3 separate regions of the Homo sapiens genome follow, and regions 1 and 2 are each linked to region 3. Evidence: promoter capture Hi-C in human tissues and cell types (Jung and others, 2019). All regions are on one chromosome and are shown on one strand. The core of a region is centred on a gene start or on the middle of the fragment in contact, and the rest is flanking DNA. Distances in the headings are between cores, read along the strand shown.

What was found. Contacts are between HindIII fragments. The study calls those that stand out against the background at their distance.
Region 1: a fragment that was not itself captured here is called in contact with the fragment with the promoter of CBS in region 3 in 3 of the 25 tissues and cell types used here (hippocampus, lymphoblastoid cells and mesenchymal stem cells).
Region 2: a fragment that was not itself captured here is called in contact with the fragment with the promoter of CBS in region 3 in 8 of the 25 tissues and cell types used here (IMR-90 fibroblasts, aorta, dorsolateral prefrontal cortex and 5 more).

What each region holds. Positions count from the first base shown.
Region 1 is chr21:43,011,046-43,014,551 of GRCh38, forward strand. PKNOX1 (PBX/knotted 1 homeobox 1) reads left to right here. Exons shown (of 11, transcript NM_004571.5): 5 at 2,023-2,193. Among named protein-coding and RNA genes, the nearest start is that of PKNOX1, 38 kb to the left of the region's middle. The HindIII fragment of the contact is 7,946 bases long and covers 1-3,506 here.
Region 2 is chr21:43,031,086-43,034,594 of GRCh38, forward strand. It overlaps PKNOX1 (PBX/knotted 1 homeobox 1), which reads left to right. Exons shown (of 11, transcript NM_004571.5): 11 at 1-2,846. Among named protein-coding and RNA genes, the nearest start is that of CBS, 43 kb to the right of the region's middle. The HindIII fragment of the contact is 5,777 bases long and covers 1-3,509 here.
Region 3 is chr21:43,073,864-43,077,366 of GRCh38, forward strand. CBS (cystathionine beta-synthase) reads right to left here and starts at 1,972. Exons shown (of 17, transcript NM_000071.3): 1 at 1,907-1,972. The HindIII fragment of the contact is 35,360 bases long and covers 1-3,503 here.

The DNA.
Region 1 (3,506 bases), core at 171-2,670, 63 kb before region 3:
ATTCTCCAAGACAGCTCTGTCTTTTTTTTTTTTTTTTTTTGAGACGGAGTCTCGCTCTGTTGCCCAGGCTGGAGTGCAGTGGTGTGATCTCAGCTCACTGCAAGCTCCGCCTCCCAGGTTCAAGCCATTCTCCTGCCTCAGCCTCCCGAGTAGCTGGGACTACAGGCACCCGCCACCACGCCCGGCTAATTTTTTTTGTATTTTTAGTAGAGACGGGATTTCACCGTGTTAGCCAGGATAGTCTCGATCTCCTGATCTTGTGATCTGCCTGCCTCAGCCTCCCAAAGTGCAGGGATTACAGGTGTGAGCCACCACGCCCGGCGACAGCTCTGTCTTGAGGCTGACAGTGATTTGTGATGCCCTCCCCCCAGGGCCAGGGCTCCAAAATCCAGCGTTTTCTGTGCCCTCCAGAGGCAATGGAGAACATCTTGGTTCCGTCATCACTGGATTGCTCTGAATGAGCTGCACCTGAGGCACCTGTACAGCACTGTCAGCTTTGGGCAGACCACACTCTCTGGGTGTGCTCTCCTGCCAGAGTGTAACCACGTGTTTACTTCTCAGAGCTGGGTACACAAAGATCCGGCATCAGGGAACCTTCACTGGATTCCCTTCGAGCCATCTTGGTCCCATATCAAAACCCTGGTTAGGGCCTTCAACAGAAAAGGTTTTTGGAAAACTCATTTTTCCTGAATAAATTGCTGAGGTCTTAGTTTTTAAGAAAATTCTCATTATATACTCGATGCTTACCATGAAACAGATTTTGTGGGTGAGTTATCTGACTTGAATCTGTCTCCTCCTCTCTGAGATGAGACTAACAGTGCATGCTCTTTGGGTGAGGATCCGATGCTCTCTCCACCCCTGAGTCTGTGGTCCACATCCATCTTCCCATTGGCCCACACCTGGCTTGGCCCAGTGAGTAGAGCACAGGTGTCCTCTGCACCCCACTAGGCTGGCAGGGACCAAGGTTCTCTTGACTGGTGAGTGTTTAGCACAGGGCCTAGCAGAGTTTGACACTCCATCATTTTTGTTACTGAGTGATTCATTTATTCACTGCATAGATACCTACGAATTCCTACCACCAGATTTACAGGTGAAGGAGATGGGCTTCGGAGCTGCTGATTCATAGGCAGCTGGTGCTTATGAAAATGGCTGCATTATTGGTATTAGTTATCTATTGCTGTGGGACAAATTACCCCAAAATGTAGTTACTTAATATAAAACTATACAACTTTGGCCAGGCGTGGTGGCTCACGCCTGTAATCCCAGCACTTTGGGAGGCTGAGGCAGGTGGATCACCTGAGGTCAGGAGTTCGTGAACAGCCTGACCAACATGGTGAAACCCCATCTCTACTAAAAATACAAAAATTAGCTGGGCATGGTGGTGCACACCTGTAATCCCAGCTACTCAGGAGGCTGAGGCAGGAGAATCACTTGAACCCAGAAGGCAGAGGTTGTAGTGAGCTGAGATCGCACCACTGCACTTCAGCCTCCAGCTTGGGCAATAAGAGTGAAACTCTGTCTCAAAAAACAAAACAAAACAAAATGATATAACTTTTAGAAAAATCGCAAGAGAAAATCTTGAGGATCTAGAACTAGGCAAAGACACCAAAATGGAACTTTATGAAAATGTAGCACTAGCCTAGGGTGAGTGTGGATGTATCACTATTTGTGGATGTAGAAACAGGAGTAGATGAGGGTGAGTCACTTGTCCTGCCTGCCACAGAGCGAATCAGTGGAAGGGCTAGGCTTTGGCTCACAGCCCACACACCTAGCACTGGGATGCACCGAGGTCACCACCACGCGCCTTTGTCTTCCCTGCACACCAGATGCAGCCAAACACCAAAGCCCAGGTCAGTGGCACCGGAACAACACATCAGTTTAGAGGATTTCTGATGTTATTCCACTTTGGTTATTGGCAGTAGAGATGGTTCTATCTAATGACTAAGAACTGGTATGTAGGATCATGATAACTTACAATAATGCCACCTTTTTCTCTGAAAGTCTTCATTTTCTCTGCTCTAGATGGTAAAAGCAATCCAGGTTTTGCGCATTCATCTTCTTGAGCTGGAAAAGGTTAACGAACTCTGCAAAGATTTCTGCAGTCGATACATTGCTTGTCTGAAAACAAAAATGAACAGTGAAACTCTGTTGAGTGGAGAGCCTGGAAGCCCGTACTCACCAGTGCAGTCCCAGGTACTTACATTTGGGGGTCTCGCTTTCCCTCTCTGCCACTGTGAACATCTGCATTGAGTCATGAGACCACCAGCTCTTTCAGAATTCACTGGGTCATCTTTATGACTTTCTACAAGAAGGACCCTCTAGGTCTCTGACCCCAGCCTGGTTTGGGAATGAACTCCCTCAGATTATGAAGTGAGTCCTCAATCTGCATACTGGGCCCCCGGTCCCATGTTTATGGAAGGCACAATTCCATTCATTTCTTTCTTTTATTTCTTCTGAAAATATTTTACTTATTCTTTTGAAAAATTGTGTAAAATACACATAATATAAAATTTACCATCTTAGCTATTTTAAAATTTACAGTTCAATGGTGTTAAGTTTATTCACATTGTTGGGCAACCATCAACACCATCCATCTCCAGAACTTTCTCATCTTCTCAAACTCAAACTCTGACCCCATTAAACACTCATTCCGGATTCCCCCTCCCCTAGCCCCTGGAACCCACCGTTCTACTGTCTGTCTCTGTGAATTCGATGACTCCAGGTCTCTCATGTTAAGCGGAATCGTACAGTGTTTGTCCTTCTGGATCCTTTGCTTGTTTCATTGTGCAGAATGCCTGGAGGGTTCATCCATGCGGAAGCACTATTGTGTTTTAGCCATTCTGATGATATGTAGTGATATTAATATTTCTTTGTGGTTTTAATTTTCATTTCCCTGATGGCTAATAATGTTGAACATTATTATACCCTCTGTGTATTTTCTTTGATAAAATGTCTGCTGCTTATGTCTTTTGCCTTTTTTTTTTTTTTTTTTTTGAGACAGAGTCTCGCTCCATCACCCAGGCTGGAGTGCAGTGGCGCGATCTCGGCTTACTGCAAACTCCGCCTCCTGGGTTCATGCCATTCTCCTGCCTCACCCTCCTGAGTAGCTGGGACTACAGGTGCCTGCCACCACACCCGGCTAATTTTTTGTATTTTTAGTAGAGACGGGGTTTCACCGTATTAGCCAGGATGGTCTCGATCTCCTGACCTCGTGATCCGCCCGCCTTGGCCTCCCAAAGTGCTGGGATTACAAGCATGAGCTACCACGCCTGGCCGTCTTTTGCGCATTTTTTAGTTGGATTTTTTTTTAACTTCTGAGTGTTGAGAGTTCTTTGCTTATTGTAGATACTAGTTCTCTGTTGGATATGTGGTTTGCAAGTGTTTTCTCCAAGTCTATAGTAGCTAAGTATTTTTCTCATCCTCTTAACAGGTCTTTTTCAGAGCCAGCCTTTTTAATTTTAATAAAGTTCAATTTATTAGGTTTTCCTTTTATGGATCATTCTTTT
Region 2 (3,509 bases), core at 5-2,504, 43 kb before region 3:
TCTAATTTAAATCTGACCACAGTTGCATGGTCGCTTTACCATGTTAGCTGTGTATTGTTTTAAAAGTTTTAACTTCAAAATATGTTATGCACAGAATGTTTATTATAAACTAATATAAAATGTGCTCTACCCCATTGGCTCAGAGCTAGGGCAAACAGCAGATATTCAGACTTTATTACTTAACTAGCGGACATCCCTGGAGTCCCAGCAGCGAGCTGGTCTGGCGAGGGCACCTCGGCAGCCCCCACGGGTTGGCTCCTACGTTTGCGTTTGTGGCTGGTCTCCTGGTGTCAGTGTTCTCTTGTACGTTGTTGCTTTCGACTTTTCAGAGCCCTCCTGCTCACTTGACCACGTGAGATTTGGAATAACTGTAGGACTTCTGTTTCCTGGTAACAAGATGAACCGAGAGAGTGGGCTGGGTTCTGTTTTCTTTGGTTTTGATTTGTTTTCATTGTTTACTTAGGAGTGGTGCTTTTTCTCAGAAAACAGGCCACGGTGTTTCATACAGAATGTCTTCATATCATCTGAAATGGTATGGCTGAAGTTCATTTGTTTACAGGGTCGGGAATGTCTTCAGTTCTTGAGAGTCAACAGTAATGATTGGTTGTAAGCCAAGGGACATTTTAAGCTAGTGAAGAGTTTTTTCTGGAATTGATTTTTCCCAAAAGAATATATTAATTGAGGTTAAGAAGTCAGTGGGAAACACACAGAAATTTGTTTTAAAATCTTTCAGGAGCTTTACTGAAAGACTTGGTTATCAAGTCTTTTGGGGAGAGAATGACATTTTTTTTTTGAGACAGAGTTTTGCTCTTGTTGCCCAGGCTGGAGGGCAATGGTGCAATCTCAGCTCACTGCAACCTCCACCTCTTATGTTCAAGCAATTCTCCTTCCTTAGCCTCCTGAGTAGCTGGGATTACAGGCATGCGCCACCACACCCGGCTAATTTTGTATTTTTAGTAGAGATGGGTTTCTCCATGTTGGTCGGGCTGGTCTCGAACTCCCGACCTCAGGTGATCTGCCTGCCTCAGCCTCCCAAAGTGCTGGGATTACAGGTGTGAGCCACCGCGCCCGGCCGAGAATGACATCTTAAAGCCACCATTGCGTTCCTCATTTGTGAACTGTCTTCTCATATTTTAAGTCAAGTCTATAAGATCATTTTTAACCTAAGTTCCAACTTTGTTGGACTCCTTAAAATAAGCACCCATGAAAGCCAGCCAGCCCTTCCTCCTTCCCTCACCACCCTCCGTCTCTTCGGCTGCTTGCTCTTTAGTGTAGATTAGTGGAAGCCATTCACAGAATGTAGACTCATGTATAGGTCACCGTTTCTTTCCCCCACTAGAAATCACATTCACTAAGCAGTGGATTGAATTTAAGAGTGCTGCCCCTGCCCGGCGCAGTAGGGCGTGCCTCTAGTTCCAGCTACTCGGGAGTCTGAGGCAGAGGATGGCATGTGCCAGGAGTTTGAGGCTGCAGTGCACTATGCTTGCACCTGTGAATAGCCACTGCACTCCATCTTGGGCAACACAGTGAGACCCCCATCTATAAAAAGAGAGCACTGCCTGAACCTCGGTGGCACTGGGAAGCTCTGGCCTGAGAGTTAAACACCCATGCTGAATGATACAGTGTGCATTCTCTCCAGCTGCAAACTTTCTTCAACTTTCCTAAATTCTTACTAAATTCAGAGGAATAGGATAAAGATCACTTAGAGAAAGGGTGCTTATGGACATAGCCTGAGTTTCCTTTAACCTCTCTGCAATGGGTGCTTTTAACTAGCTTCTACATGGCAAGCTGTTTCAGTTTGCAAAATCACTGCCCAGCATGTTTGAGGTCAGTTGGCACCTTAAAACACCTGTTCTCCAGCCCTTGGACAGTGGAGAGAATCTGTAAAAGTGTGACCCCCTCTAAGATTTCGTTTTAAATGATCAGATTCGGTTCCAGTTTTATTCTTGTTGAGTTTTTCCCTATGAAGGCTCCTTTTGAATGTGTCTTGAGACCCAAATTGAGCATGTTGCTGTTATTCCTGCCCTGCACCTGTGGAGCAGGAGTGGCAGGGCTGGCTGTGCTGGGTTCCAGCTCGCTCCCACCGAGGGACTAGCTTGGCCTTTGCGCTTTGATTCCAGATAGTAAGATGAGTGGAAGTGTTTATCGAGCATGCAAAAGAAACCCTCACGGCTAAGGGCTCTGGGAGTTGTGTCTGTGTGACCTGAGAGTGATCCATCTCCTGCCTGTGTGAGGTAGCAGTGGGCACTTTTCATTGAGACAAACTCCAGGGTGTCCAGAGGGGGTTCTGCCCCTTGTGAAGGCCCATTCCTGGCACTTAGAGACAGAAAGAACTCAGCAATCTTTCGTTCTAGTTATATTCGGTCTTTGAAACTGACAATCTTTGAAATGTGAATACTGTAACAATATGTTTTCTTGGATTGTTGTCTTTAAAAAGGATTTTTGTGAAGCAATTGATTTATCAAAGCAAAAAAATTAAAAATAGAAACTTGCTTTATGGATGTTTTATTTTATAAAGCTCATGTCACCAAAAGCTGCTTCTCCATTTTATGTAAAACATTGAGAATGTTTTCATGTTTTCTGGTGACATGTAGGGTCTGTAGTCACCCCTGCATATTGAGAAACTAGGACCACACTGCATCGGACTAGTCAGGTCCATTTACATGTCCAAGAATCTTTTCTTAAATTCCTTACTTTGTTCATTCATTGGCTGTTCAGGCAGAAAATGGAAACAGGTAGCTTTTATGTTTTTTATTATAGTTTTCCACAAATCTAATTATTTTGATAGTTACAAGAAGATAATGATTCATCAGTAAGCTAACATAATCCCTTTCATAGTTCATATTATAAATTTTCATGACAAGAAAGTTCCTGAAGATTTAAAAGGTACATTAAAACAATTTCAGAGGGTTTTTAATCTTTGTTGTCCAGAGTGTTATAACTCCCAACAACTGTTCATGCTTAGAGGCTAAAGTCAGCAGACTTAGTATTTTAAAAACCACATGCAAAATTATGAGTCTTGTTGGTAATTAGTAGTGACAGCTGACTGTATTGTTTCAAGCAATGTTTTCATTGGTTACAGAAAACTGAGGCACTGTGTTGTATTTCCAGCTCCCTTAGTTCAGAGGTGAGAGGACGGGCATGAACTTTATTAATGTGGGGCCTCAGGCAGCCCCAGTCTCTCTAGGCTTCCAGGGCTTCATTTATGAAAAGGAAGAACTGGCTTATAAGGTTTATTCTAGCCTTACAATGATGTTTATGACTAATAAGATTCTATCTCTCCATCTAAAGACTGATGAGGAAGTGAGTAATGGTCTAGCAAATCCAGAAAATAAGAAATATTTGGATTAAATATTTAGTGTTTCACAGTTTTTGAATTATATGAATGTCATAAACAATGTCTACTGTTTTTAGCTTTCATGCCATTCTATTATGTATACTCTCAGAAGAAATTCTTAGTACAAGGCCGGGCGCGGTGGCTCCCGCCTGTAATCCCAGCACTTTGTGAG
Region 3 (3,503 bases), core at 722-3,221:
TAAAACTGCTCTTTTTTAAATTTTCGAGACGGAGTCTCCCTCTTGTTGCCCAGGCTGGAGCAGTGGTGCGATCTCGGCTCACTGCAACCTCCACCTCCCGGGTTCAAGCAGTTCTCCTGTCTCAGCCTCCTGAGTAGGATTACAGACGCCCGCCACCACATCCGGCTAATTTTTGTATTTTTAGTAGAGACGAAGTTTCACCATGTTGGCCAGGCTGGTCTCGAACTCCTGACCTCAGGTGATTCGCCCGCCTAGCCTCTCAAAGTGCTGGGATTATAGGAGTGAGCCACCCCGCCCGGCCTAAAACTGCTTTTTTTTTAAAAAGCCTATTAAAAAAGAAAAAGTTGCGGAAGCCGGCTGCCTTTGGAAGCCCTTGGAGTATGCTGTTCAGGTGGTCTCTGCGCACAGGCCCTACCCAGGCCTCAGCTTGGCCTCCTGGACTTCCCAGCCTCCCCTCCACCTTTGCAATTCACCAGACTGGGGGCCAAAGCGGCTTCAAACGACCCTGGAGGGTGGTGCTTTCAAGGTCTTGGGACCACGGACTTGTCTGAAAATCCGAAGGCGTTGGATCTTCTCTTCCCCAGAAAAATGCACCCGCTTTCAGAGGTTCGTGTCCCACGCTTTTCTTTCTATCCCAACCTTGTAAGAAGCCGCCGCCGTGAGCGGAGCAGCACCTTCCTCCGCGGGTCGCGGGAGTCACCTACGGGAAGGGACTCTCCGTCTGGCACAGGCCCTGTCTGGCCTGGGGCGCGCATGCTCCGCCGCCGAATCTTCCAGAAAGCCGTGGACCCGAGGCCCCGGCAGACGCAGGCGGCCCAGCGCCTTGCTTTTGGCCCCTCGCCTCGCCCTGGAGCCCTCTCTCGCAAGGTAAGGGACTGCCGGGAACGCAGATCGCAAGCCGTCGGGGCTCTGTAGAACTCAGAGGCGCTCGGCGGAAAGCTCGCCAGGCGACCCAGACCCGAACCCGCGGGCTCCCCAAGACAACAGCGCCGGGCGGCCGGATGCACGTGCGTCCCGGGAAGGCGGGTTCAGCTGGCATCGCCTGGCCGGTTCCGTTCGCTCCTTAAACCACAAGACCCCCTTGGGGTCACGACGTTCCCGGGGCACCCCTGCACTCGCGCGCCAGCACTCCCGGAGGGGCCTGGGGAAGGCCACGCGCACGGAGAGCGGGAAACTCCTCTAGGTTTCCAGGTGGGAGATCCAGACCCTACTGAGACCCGGAAACCGCCGGCCACTCCGCCTCCGGAAGCGACACTTTGGGACAAAGCTGGGGACAAGTAAGCCCAGAAGATCCTCGGGAAGCCGAGAATTTCGCGCTCCGCTCTCCCACCCACGCTCCGCCTCCCGCTTGCATCCTACAGCTCAGCTGCGGTCTCGCCTGGGGCTCAGGGAAGTGAGGTCCCAGGAAAACCTCCATCCCCCGAACGCAACCTGGGCAGAGCCCCGCGTCCCTCCCCCAGCGGGCACCCACCTCGCGTGCCGCCCGCGCAACGACAGCGTTTACCGCCACCCCACACGGTCCGCCAAAAAGGGCGATTTGCAAACAGCCATTTCCCATCCACAATGCAGCGAACTCAATGCTGGGCACCGAAACGTGCATCTCCCCCGGATTCCCACCCCGCGTCCCTGCTCCACGCTCCAGGACTCGCCGCCAGTGGGGTCCACTCCGCCGGCGCGGGGGCTGGGGTGGGAGCCCGGGGCCACGTGCACGGCCAGCCCCCATCTTCTGGGCGGTCAAGACCGCAGGCGTGGGCGCCGGTGGGGCGGGGGTCTTGGGAGACCCTGTCTCGCCGCCTTTCGGTGCAGATGATGCAACTCTGGGCGGAGGCGCGGAGAGGGAAACCGGGACCCAGTTGAGATCCTCTGTCCAGAGAGGGGAGCGAGTCTCGGTGGGGCCGGATCTCACCTGGACGGATACATGGAAAAGAGGGGCGAGCGGCTGCCCCGACTGCGGCGAGGCGGAGACGGCGACCCCGGGGTGGCGGCCTCGCGGGGACCCACGGCGAGGGGAGCAGGCGGGCGGTGATTGGCGGAGAGGCGGGGGCGGAGGCCGGCGCCGGCCAATGTCTCGTGGCAGAGCACCCGCCCCCCCAGCCCCTCCTCCACCCCACCCAGCCCGGGCCCCTCCCCCCCACCCCTTCCCCACCCCGCCGCAGCCTGGGACCCTCCGGCCTGCCCGACCCCCGCCCTCCCCGGGACCCCGGCATGCCCCCACCCCAGTCCGCCCGCCCCATTCCCACGCCCTGTTGATTCAACCGCAGACCCGGGTCGCCGCCCCCTCCCCCGCCTTCCTCTTCGCCTGAGCCCGCCCGCCCCGGGTTCCAGCCACCCCCACCCGCGGACCCCGGTGGTGTCTTCTACCTGGTGTTCCGATGCTGTTTTACTTGGTTAACTTCTTGCCCTTCGGGAATTTAAGGAACCTTTACTGATGAGCTTGAAACGTGCGTCCTGGTGGGTGGGGGGCCCTGCGCGTCCTCGAGGACCGACCCCGAGGGCGTGTGTCGCGGGCCCGGGAGGGGGCGCCGCGCCGGGGCGGGACTCGATGGCCGCGCTCTGTGGCCGCCGGACGCCGTGCGCAGCGCCCCGCGTGACCGCGCCCAGAGCCGGGTCCGAACCCCGAGCCGAGGCGCAGAACAGTCGCCTTGCGCGGCTCCGGTGCGGCCCACGGCCAGGGGCTGCCGGGCGCTCTCGGGGACGGGGCCGACTCCGCGCAGGGTGGTAGCAGGGGCGCCCCGCGGGGCTCCTTCGCCAGGTCCCGGAGGCCGCGGGCGGGGCCGTTTCCCAAACATCGTGCTCTGGACTTTCAGAGGCTGAACCTGATCCCCCCGCCCTATGGCTAAATGGGGGATCCCAGGCCCCCGAGTCTCCCCCCGGACCTGCAGCGAAAGACACGGACGGTGCCCATCAGCTCTGGGCAGAGGAACGTGCTGCGCCTCCGCAGCGTCCCCGGCTCAGGTCAGAGCGATGCTCCGCAGCCTCCTCCGGCCCGCGCAGCTCCGCCGCGGTCTCTGCCACGTGGGGCTCACAGTAGGGGAGGGAGTGAGACGTGAATTAGAATTAAATGTCCACTGGCAGGAACTGACACGAAGAACAATAAAGCCGGCGATGTGGGGAGGGGACAGGGATGGAGTTACATCATGAAGGCTCTGGAAGGTGGCATTGGAGGCCGGGATCGCGCCACTGTCCTCCAGCCTGTGCGACTGAGCGAGACTGTCTCCAGAAAAAAAAAAAAAAAAAAAAAAAAAAAAAAAAATCCTGTCCAGTCTTTATAAGAAGAGAGACGTGGACACAGACACGCGGAGAGAAAAAGGCCATGTGGAGATGGCGGCAGAGATGAGATGTGCTGCCACCAGACGAGAAATGGCAGGGATGGCTGGCGGCCTCCACAGGGCTGGGAAAGGTGGCCAGGGCCTCCCTCAGAGCCTTCAGCCAGCCTGCGGGAGAGAAAGATGATAAACGGTGTTGTTTTTGTTGTTGTTGTTTGAGACAGAGTCTGTGTCACA